2 separate regions of the Homo sapiens genome follow, and region 2 is linked to region 1. Evidence: promoter capture Hi-C in 16 types of primary human blood cells and fetal thymus (Javierre and others, 2016). All regions are on one chromosome and are shown on one strand. The core of a region is centred on a gene start or on the middle of the fragment in contact, and the rest is flanking DNA. Distances in the headings are between cores, read along the strand shown.

Region 1 (4,661 bases), core at 687-3,186:
TGTGTCCTTAAGCTATCCTCCACTGCTTCCTGCCCTTCACCCCAGCTATGATAAATGCATTAATTGACTATGTCTGTTTTTGTTTAAGGTTTCTCTTGCCCATAGACTGAGTCTCAAGCTTTCTGGGACTGGGTCTGTCTTGTTCATTGCTTGGACACTCAATACGTATTTGTTGAATGGATGAAAAAAACCCACTCTGTCCTACCTTGATCCCCGTCACATAGCAATTAGAAGATAGGTGTCCACACCAAGCTGCCTCTGCGACCCAAGCTGAAATGCGGTTCTCTCAGGAAAATCAGGAGATTTCACTCGACACCCCAACCCCAGCTCCCACACACTGTGGACCACTTTTCATGCCTTCCCTCCAGGTTCCTGAGCCCCACCCCCATCACAGGAAGATCATTTTCTGTCCATTAAACTCACTTATTTAGCAAGAGAACTGGGTCTGCAGGAGATACTTGAAGATCATTGGAGATCATTCCACAGGAAGGCAGATCCCTGCATGGCTGGGGAAGATAGGCACAATTGTGTTTCCACCCCTCCACTAAGATGACTTCCAAACCCAACCCCACTGAGGGGATACTGGCCTGACCTGGCAGCCTTGCACCTGGATCAATATTTCTCAAAATTTGGTGCACTTAAGAATGAATCTCGGCGGGGTGCGGTGGCTCACGCCTGTAATCCCAGCACTTTGGGAGGCCGAGGCAGGCAGATCACGGGGTCAGGAGATCGAGACTATTCCGGATAACATGGTGAAACCCCATCTCTACTAAAAATACAAAAAAATTGGCCGGGCGTGGTGGCGGGCGCCTGTAGTCCCAGCTACTCAGGAGGCTGAGGCAGGAGAATGGTGTGAACCCGGGAGGCAGAGCTTGCAGTGAGCCGAGATCGTGGCACTGCACTCCAGCCTGGGCGACAGTGCGAGACTGCGTCTCAAAAAAAAAAAAAAAGAATCTCATCTGTAATTACAGCACTTTGGGAGGCCAAGGCAGGCGGATCGCTTGAGACCAGGAGTTCCAGACCAGCCTGGGCAACGTAGTAAGACCTAGTCTTTACAAAAAATTAAAAAATTAGCTGGGCATGATGGATGGCTCACGCCTGTAGTCCTAGCTACTCAGGAGGCTGAGGCAGAAAGGATCACTTGAGCTGGGGAAGTCGAGGCAGTGAGCCTGATTGCTCCACTCCACTCTGGCCTCAGCCACAGAGGGAGACCCTGTCTCAAAAAAATAAAAAGAATCTCCCCGATAAGCTCTCACTACTCGAGAGTGTAGTTCTGGGACCAGCAGCACCCCCAGCACATAGGAGCTTGTTAAAAATGCAAAGCCTTACTAACAAAACAGCCAGCAAAGGAAGTTTTAGGTAGACAGAGGCAAACAGGAGCCTGGATACACGTGGCATGCACAGGCCGTGTGCACGATGGAGTGAGTGCAGGTTAAAGCAGAGCTGGATTTAGTGATCTACACACACACACACACACACACACACACACACACACACACACACACACGGGATTCGAGCGCACCGAGTTGCCTCCACTTGGGCATAGGCGCGGAACTGTGTCCTCCCGCTTTGAGATGCAACGGTGCAGAGACGCGGGAGCCCAGAACGCTTCCCAGGGCCCCTGGGACACCCTCGGGCGCCCTCCGCGCCGCGACCGCCGCCTGTGGCCAGGTCACAGCCTCCCAGCTCGCCAGAGAGCCCTCCTTCCCAAATCTCTCTTCGGTCCCCCGGCGCCCCTGGAAGGGCCGGAGTTGGAGGGTCCCCTCTCTCAGCCTCGTCCCTCCCCTGAGGCCCGATCGGCCGGCGCGGGCAATCAGTGCCCGGGCAAGTCCTTGAAGTCTATATTTAGTGCCCGCCACCCCTCCCCCGCACAGTTGGGAGGCGGGCGGTGGGGGGGTGGGGGTGGGGAGAGCCCCGCCCCCGCCGGGCGTGTGTGTCGTGTGTGTTTGGGGCCCGCGCGGGTTGCGCGCCCTCCGCCTTCGCGCCTCCTGCCCCCGAGGCCCTACTGCTGCCCCTGTGCCCCTCGCCCCGCCGGGCGTCGCGGGCCAACATGGGCCAGGAAGAGGAGCTGCTGAGGATCGCCAAAAAGCTGGAGAAGATGGTGGCCAGGAAGAACACGGTGAGGCTGCAGAGTTTGGGCCACGGCCCCCGCCCCCGGGAGGCGCGGGCAAGCCCCGGATTCCGGGGTGGGGACGTACTGGCGGGGCGCCATGGGGGCGCGTACGGGACTCGGGGACCCGAGGGAGGAGCGGCTGGTGCAGGGCCCAAGGCCCCTTGGGGACCCTTGCTGAGCACCTCGAGGTGGGCGTGTGCGTGGCCCAGGACGCCAGGGGGATCGTGCGGGTCCCGGAGGCGCGACTTGTGCACGTCCCTTTGGACGTGTAGGGTTCACCCTGGGCAGCTAGTGCAGGGCCCAGGAAAGCGGGCGAAGAGAGCTGGACGTGGGAAAGGACTTTGGGAGTCCCAGGGCTTGGCGTGTGCAAAGCCCGGGGAGCGGCGGCGATGGCGGGGGCGGGGCGGGGGGCAAATCCGGGTGGCCCGAGAAGTGGCAGAGAAACTTGGGCTGACGGGGGTACTGAGCTGCATCCCTGCACCCCGGAGTGGGTCTGCGGGAGAGAAGTAAAAGGCCGTGGATCCTGCGACCCCACCGCTTGGTGCGTCAGGAGCGGTTCTTTTGGCAATTTTCCCTTTCCTTGGCCTTGGGGTGCGGCCCGGACGGGCGGGGGCCGAACAGGTGCGGGGGCCCGCGGGGCGGGGGAAGGGGGCCGGGCTGGAGGCCTGTGCAGCGAGGGCGAGGGCGGAGGGAGGAGCGGGCTCGGCGGGAGGTTGGGAGCAGGGCTGACAGCCCTACCGGAGGGTCCTGGCCAGAGCGCAGACCCAGCTGGAAGTTAATGTTTGATCTTCCCCGTGATCTTTGCCTGGGGCTGGCGGCCGACTGGTCGCCTGGCCAGAGCAAATTTGGCCTTGGGTCCTGGAGGGCCTGCGCTCACCCTGGGAGGGAAAAAAAGGGAGCCTGGTGAGCATGCCCTTCCCACCTCCCGTTCCTGTTCCAGGGTCCTCTTCCTCCCACCATCCGTAGCCATGTGCTGCAGCCACCTGCATTTCCAGGACACTTAGGAGCCTGGGAAAGGAAGAGACACTAAGGGAAGTTTTAGAGCCAGGAAGAGTAGCCAAGGCCCAGGGAAGGGTCACTGGAACCATGAAGTGGCAGGGAGCCCTAGAGTGGACACTGGGCAGTCATGAGTTGGTGTCCATATAAAGGCCAGAGCCTCAGTTTCTTCATCTGTAAGAAAGAGATGAGATTATCTGCCTCTGGAGAAGGGATGTCACTGGATTCTTGTCTCTGCTGGCAGCGGTGAGGATTGGAGAGATGAGACAGAGATGTAAAGCCCTTAGTAGGACTCAGACCTGTGCTTGCTAAGAACTGGCGAACAAGACCTGCTTCTACGCAGCCAGGTCCAACACAGAAAGATACAGCACAAACCTGCAGAGTGCTGGGAGCTTCTCACCTGACACTCCCAACCTCCATGCACTCCCCGTTCCAGACTCCTCCACAATCCTCAGTACAACTGAGCCACAAGTCTTGGGGGAGCATTTTCTCAGCTGGGGTTGGCAGAGCGCAGCCAGGGATTCTGAGCCAAATTCCAGTTCAAATAGACGGGTTATCCCAGCCCAGCTCCTTACTGACCCCCAAGCTTGGGCCAGGAAAGAAATTCTGGGCCCCTGGGTAAGAGGGGTAGGGTGGGGACGCCTAGAGACCGGAGGAGAGGCAGGCTGCTTGGGATAGAGCTCTGGCTGAAGAGGACGGGACCTGCCCTGGCCTCCCCCTCACTCCTTTTATGGCCCTAGGCAAAAGCCACTCAACCTTCCCTTTCTGGACCTCGAGTTTCCTCTTCTGTGAAATGGGAAGAGGAAATGGTGTCTTTTGGAGATGGATTCCTGTGGAAGTGCCCAGAGCTGTCCCCTGAAAAGATGCAAGTCTGGCCGCAGGGTCCCTGCAGCATGGAGCCAGTTTACAGCCACGTCTGCGCCTGGGCTCTCGGCAGTGTCTGGGTGGGCATGGAGCTCTGGGCGTCTGGCCGAGAAAGGTGGGGCCTGCTCTGGGAGTGAAAGTGGACCCGCCCAGCAGTGGTTAGGCAGAGGAGGACATACTTCCTGTAATAAGACGGATCCTCCACGTTGCAGCTCAGGCCCGGGGTTTACTGCCGGTTGCTGAAGTCTCAGCCACTTAAGGCTTTGTCACATCCTCTGAGCATGCACTAACAGAAGCAACTTCAAACATGCAACCAAGTGCCTACGGTCACAGCTACATACACACACATAGCTATAACATGTGGCCACAACACAGTAGTTAAACAAGCAACTGAACCTAACTGCGTATGAGACACGGCTACTGACACCAACATGACAAGCATACTGACCCATATGACCCACATTGACCATTATAGTTATAGAATGATACACAAAGACAGCCACACACGTATGCACGCAGCACAGCTACACCCAGACATGCAATGCTACAGACTTAGCAAACAGCCACATTTATACATTCAGATCTTATAACACAGGCGTCATCCCACAAAGCCAAATAGACACAGCTGTGCCCGGAGCTGCATATTCACAGCTGCACACTTAGACCAGAGATACTACTGGCTACAGAA
Region 2 (5,071 bases), core at 2,328-4,827, 220 kb before region 1:
AACTCACAGTCAGCCCCTGGCATCCTTCTTAAAGGTCAAGAACACCAGGGAGGGGTGAGAGGCCTCCAGACCTGTAGATGCTCAGGACCAAGGGTTGAGCAGAATAAGGTCCCGGTTCTCAGGGAGCTCCTGAACTATTGGGCAAGAGAGGCCCAAAACGTGTAGTAGAATTCCCCACAAGGGAGGGAGCATGGAGGAGCTGTGGGGGCAGGGAGGAGGAGCCCTCCATGGACTGTGCATGGGTGGGGAGGTCAGGGAGGCTTCATTTCTAAGCTGGGGACTGAGAGCCAAGCAGGAGTTGACCAGATAAATAGGTAAGAAAGGGGTAGAGGAAGAATATGTTGGAAGATCCAGAGGAAGGAGATCTTGTAGAACACCCAGAGACAGGAAAGAAGGTCTGGCAAGGGCTGGAGAGGTGGGGTCCCTAACACACAGCCACGGAGATCATGCCCAGATCTCAGACGGCGGGGAGCTGCCTTTGTGTGCTCGGGATGCCATAACAAAATACCACAGACTTCGTAGCTAAATAACAGACATTGATGCCTCACTGTTCTGGAGGCCAGAAGTCCAAGATCAAGGTGCCAGCAGATTCAGTTTCTGGTGAGGGCTCTCTTCCTGGCTTGTAGACAGCTGCCTTCTTGCTGTGTCCTCACATGGCCTTTTCTTTGTGTGTGTGCTCACAGTGGGGAAGAGGAGAGTGAGCTCTGCAGTGTCTCCTCTTATAAGGCATGAATCCCAAGGGATCAGGGTCCCACTCTTATGACCTCATTTAACCTTAATTACTTCCTAAAGGCCCCTTTTCCAAACACAGTTGCAATGGGACTTAAAGCTGCAACATGTGATTCTGGGGAGGACACAATTCAGTCCACAGCAGGGGCCATGGAAGGTTTTAAGCAGGGAGGTCCTAGGGTAAGATTGGCCTTTGGGGAGCTCTTTCTGGCCGCAGAGGGGAGGATGGGCCAGAGCAGGCAGGACTGGAAGCTGTCTGAGTGGTTGCTCTAGTCTAGCGGTGAGAAGTGTCACTGGACCAGAGGCATGGCATTTGGAAGGGAGTGGGGGAGCTGCTCAATAAGCTTGGATCCGCGGGACTCAATGTGAAAAGAGGGCTTAGAGAGGGGGAGAGGTCAAGGATGACTGCCAGAGTCCCAGCTTGGGTAAGAGGGGGATGCAGGGACAGTTTCATGGGCATGTGACCTGCATGGTCCCACACACCAAAGGGCCCAGCGTTTGTTTAATGCTCTGCTGTTGCTGTCTTGAATTATTAACAGTTTTTTAACTGTTTAACAAGAGGCTCTGCATTTTGATTTTGCACTGGGACCTGCAAATTCTTGAGCCATTCTGCGTGGATGGGGGTCTGTGAACCTCTCTCCTCCTCCACAGATCACCAGACTGGAGCAGGGAGGGAGCTGGCCTCCCTACGACCTCTCTCTCTTGAGATGGTTACTTGATACCAGCCTTATTGCTGCCAAAACTAAAACAAGGACAAAAAAACAACAACCCTCCTAATTAACACCCTCAGCACCACTAGCAGTTAAGGGCAAAGGCTTTAGAGTCTCTGAGAAGAAAGCAAATCAGGTGCTGAATTTATTGCCTTTAGGAATTTTTAAGGCTCCATTGCCTTATCTATGGGGTGACCATGTACTTTATTGACCAGCTCAGTACGCTTCTAAGACTAGAATGGGAAAGTGGGAATAAAATACTCCCTATGCTGGGACAATAGGTGCCAACTGGATCTGTCCCATCCAAACTGGGACACATGATCCCCTACTTTTCTGTAAAATGGGATTAAATAGAACCATGCAGAGAATACAGGGGGGCCAAAGTAAGTGCTCAGTGAGCAGCACCTTCATTATTTCTTTTTATTTTTTTATTTTTATTTTTATTTTTTTGAGATGGAGTCTCACTCTGTTGCCCAGGCTAGAGTGCAGTGGCATGATCTCGGCTCACTGCAACCTCCGCCTCCCCGGTTCAAGTAATTCTCATGTCTCAGACTCCTGAGTAGCTGGGACTACAGGTACGTGCCACCACGCCCAGCTAATTTTTTGTGTTTTTTGTAGAGACGGGGTTCCACCATGTTGCCCAGGCTGATCTCGAACTCCTGACCTCAGGTGATCTGCCAGCCTTGGCCTCCCAAAGTGCTGGGATTACAGGCATAAGCCACCACGCCCGGCCTTTTTTTTTTTTTTTTGAGATAGTCTTGCTCTGTCACCCACACTGGAGTGCAGTGGCATGATCTCTGCTCACTGCAACCTCAGCTTCCCAGGTTCAAGACATTCTCTTGCCTCAGCCTCCTAAGTAGCTGGAAACAGGCACCTGCCATGACATCAGGCTAATTTCTGTGTTTTTAATAGAGATGAGGTTTCACCATGTTGGCCAGGCTGGTCTTGAACTCCTGACCTCAAGTGATCCACCTGCCTCGGCCTCTCAAAGTGCTGGGATTACAGGCATGAGCCACCGTGCCTGGCCATCTTATCATTATTTATTTATTTATTAGACAGAGTTTTGCTCATTGCACAGGCTGGAGTGCAATGGCATGATCTCGGCTCACTGCAACCTCTGCCTCGCAGGTTCAAGTGATTCTCCTGCATCAGCCTCCCAAGTAGCTGGGATTACAGGCATGTGCCACCATGCCTGGCTAATTTTTGTATTTTTAGTAGAGATAGGGCTTCACCATGTTGGCCAGGCTGGTCTTGAACTCCTGACCTCAAGTGATCCACCTGCCTTAGCCTCCCAAAGTCCTGGGATTACAGGCATGGCCATCACGCCCAGCCATCCTATCATTATTTCTATACTCTGCAGTCACTCTCAATTGATGTCTAAATGTCATTCACTTGTCAATCAATTACTCACTACCCACCATGTGTCAGGTACACAGCATTGGTTCTCCTGATGTGAAGATGTACTGATAATTCATCTATTCAGCCCACATTTTGTGAGCAGCTCCTATCTGCCAGGCTAGGTTCTGAGGCTAGGCTCGTTCTGGGGATCCAAAGATGAGTGACACCACTTGTCCTCCTGGGGCTTGCAATCTTGTAGGGTACGGTGGGTGAAAGCGTGTCTCCCAAAAATGCATGTCCACCTAGAACTTCAGAATATGACCTTACTTGAAAACAGGGTTGGCCGGACGTGGTGGCTCACGCCTGTAATCCCAGCACTTTGGGAGGCCGAGGTGGGTGGATCACGAGGTCAGGAGATCGAGACCATCCTGGCCAACACGGTGAAACCCCGTCTCTACTAAAAATACAAAAAAATTAGCCAGGCGTGGTGGCGGGCGCCTGTAGTCCCAGCTACTTGGGAGGCTGAGGCAGGAGAATGGCCTGAACCCGGGAGGCAGAGCTTGCAGTGAGCCGAGATAGTGCCACTGCACTCCAGCCTGGGCGACAGAGTGAGACTCCATCTCAAAAAAAAAAAAAAGAAAAGAAAAAAAAAGAAAAAGAAAACAGGGTCTTTGCAGGTGTAATTAAGATAAGTATCAAAATAAAATCATGCTGGATTAGGGTGGGCCTGAAATCCAATGAGAGTGTCTTGATAAGAGACAGAAGAGTGCACAGAGACACAGACGAAAAGGCCTTGTGAAGACAGAAGCAGAGACTGGAGGGCAGGGGCACTCCACAAAATGCCAAGGATTTTGCCAGCAGCCACCAAAAGTTAGGAGAAAGGCATGGAATGGATCTTCCCTTAGACCCTCCATCACCCAGGCTGGAGTACAGTGGCGTGATCTCAGCGCATTGCAACCTCCACCTCCCGGACTCAAGCAATCCTCCTGCCTCAGCCCCCCAAGTAGTTGGGACTACAGGCTGGCTATTTTTTGTATTTTTTCGTAGAGATGGTGTTTCACCATGTTGCCCAGGCTGGTCTCAAACTCCTGGGCTCAAGCAATCCTCCCACCTCAGCCTCCCAAAGTGCTGGGATTATAGGTATAAGCCACCGCGCCCAGCCCACCTTGATTTCAGACTTCTGGAAGAACCATGAGAATAAGTTTCTGTTGCTTTCAGCTACCAAGGCTGTAGTAATTTGTTACAGCAGCCCTAAGAAAATAATCCATAGAGGACACACATGACACCCACATTGATAACTAAATGAATAATTATATGATAGCTACCTCCAGGGAGAGGTAGCGATGAGGAGGCGTCACAAGGAGGCTTCTGGGGAGCTGGTTATGTTCACTTCTTGACCTAGAGGCAGGTTATGCAGATGGGTTCATTTTGTGAAGGTATATTGAGCTGTACACAGGATTTGTGTGTTTTTGTGTTTGTTATACTTCAGGAAAAACTTAAAAAGATAAATTGCACAGGCCAGGTGCGGTGGCTCATGCCTGTAATCCCAGGACTTTGGGAGGCCAAGGCAGCTGGATCACTTGAGGTTAGGAGTTTGAGAGCAACCTGGCCAACATGGTGAAACCCCGTCTCTAATAAAAATACAAAAATTAGCCAGGCGTGGTGGTACACACCTATAATCCCAGCTACTCAGAGGCTGAGACAGGAGAATTGCTTGAACTCAGGAGGCGAAAGTTGCAGTGAGCCGAGATCATGCCACTGCACTCCAGCCTGGGTGACTGAGTGAGACTCCATCCCCCAAAAATAATAAAACAAAATAAAATTTAAAAAGATAAATTGCATAGGTAGATGTATAACTATAGATTGTGTTAAGTGCTTTGAAACAAAACTCATGGGTTATAGGAGACAGTATTTTTTAGTCAGCTAGGACTGCTATAACAAAATACCACAAACTGGGTGGCTTAAACAACATACATTTATTCCTCACAGTTGTGGAGGCTGGGAAGTCCAAGATTAAGGTGCCAGCAGATTCCTGGTGAGGGCTCTCTCCCTGGGTTTGCAGACAGCCACCCTCTTGCTGGGTCCTCACATGGTGGAAAAAGAATGATCTCTTTTCTTCTTACAAAGCCACCTTTCTCTGTTTACAGTTTTGTAACATTGGTAATCTGTGATGGTAGCGTCTGTCATTTATTGAACACCTATGTTCCAGAAACTTTACTGTGAAATAGGTACTATTGTCCCTCATTCCAGACGAGGAGGCTGAGGCTCACTTGCCTGTTCCTGGTAGATGGAGA

What was found. Contacts are between HindIII fragments. The CHiCAGO score rates a contact against its expected background, and 5 or more counts as called.
Region 2: a contact is called between a fragment that was not itself captured here and the fragment with the promoter of TCEA3 in region 1, in 1 of 17 cell types (naive CD8 T cells). The highest score is 5.0, in naive CD8 T cells.

What each region holds. Positions count from the first base shown.
Region 1 is chr1:23,422,023-23,426,683 of GRCh38, reverse strand. TCEA3 (transcription elongation factor A3) reads left to right here and starts at 1,936. Exons shown (of 11, transcript NM_003196.3): 1 at 1,936-2,119. The coding sequence starts at 2,051. LOC124903875 (a long non-coding RNA gene) reads right to left here and starts at 1,818. Exons shown (of 3, transcript XR_007065535.1): 1 at 1,523-1,818; 2 at 424-506. The HindIII fragment of the contact is 3,577 bases long and covers 121-3,697 here.
Region 2 is chr1:23,640,232-23,645,302 of GRCh38, reverse strand. It overlaps MDS2 (myelodysplastic syndrome 2 translocation associated), which reads right to left. Exons shown (of 6, transcript NR_167910.1): 6 at 4,735-4,975. Among named protein-coding and RNA genes, the nearest start is that of MDS2, 15 kb to the right of the region's middle. The HindIII fragment of the contact is 5,004 bases long and covers 1,076-5,071 here.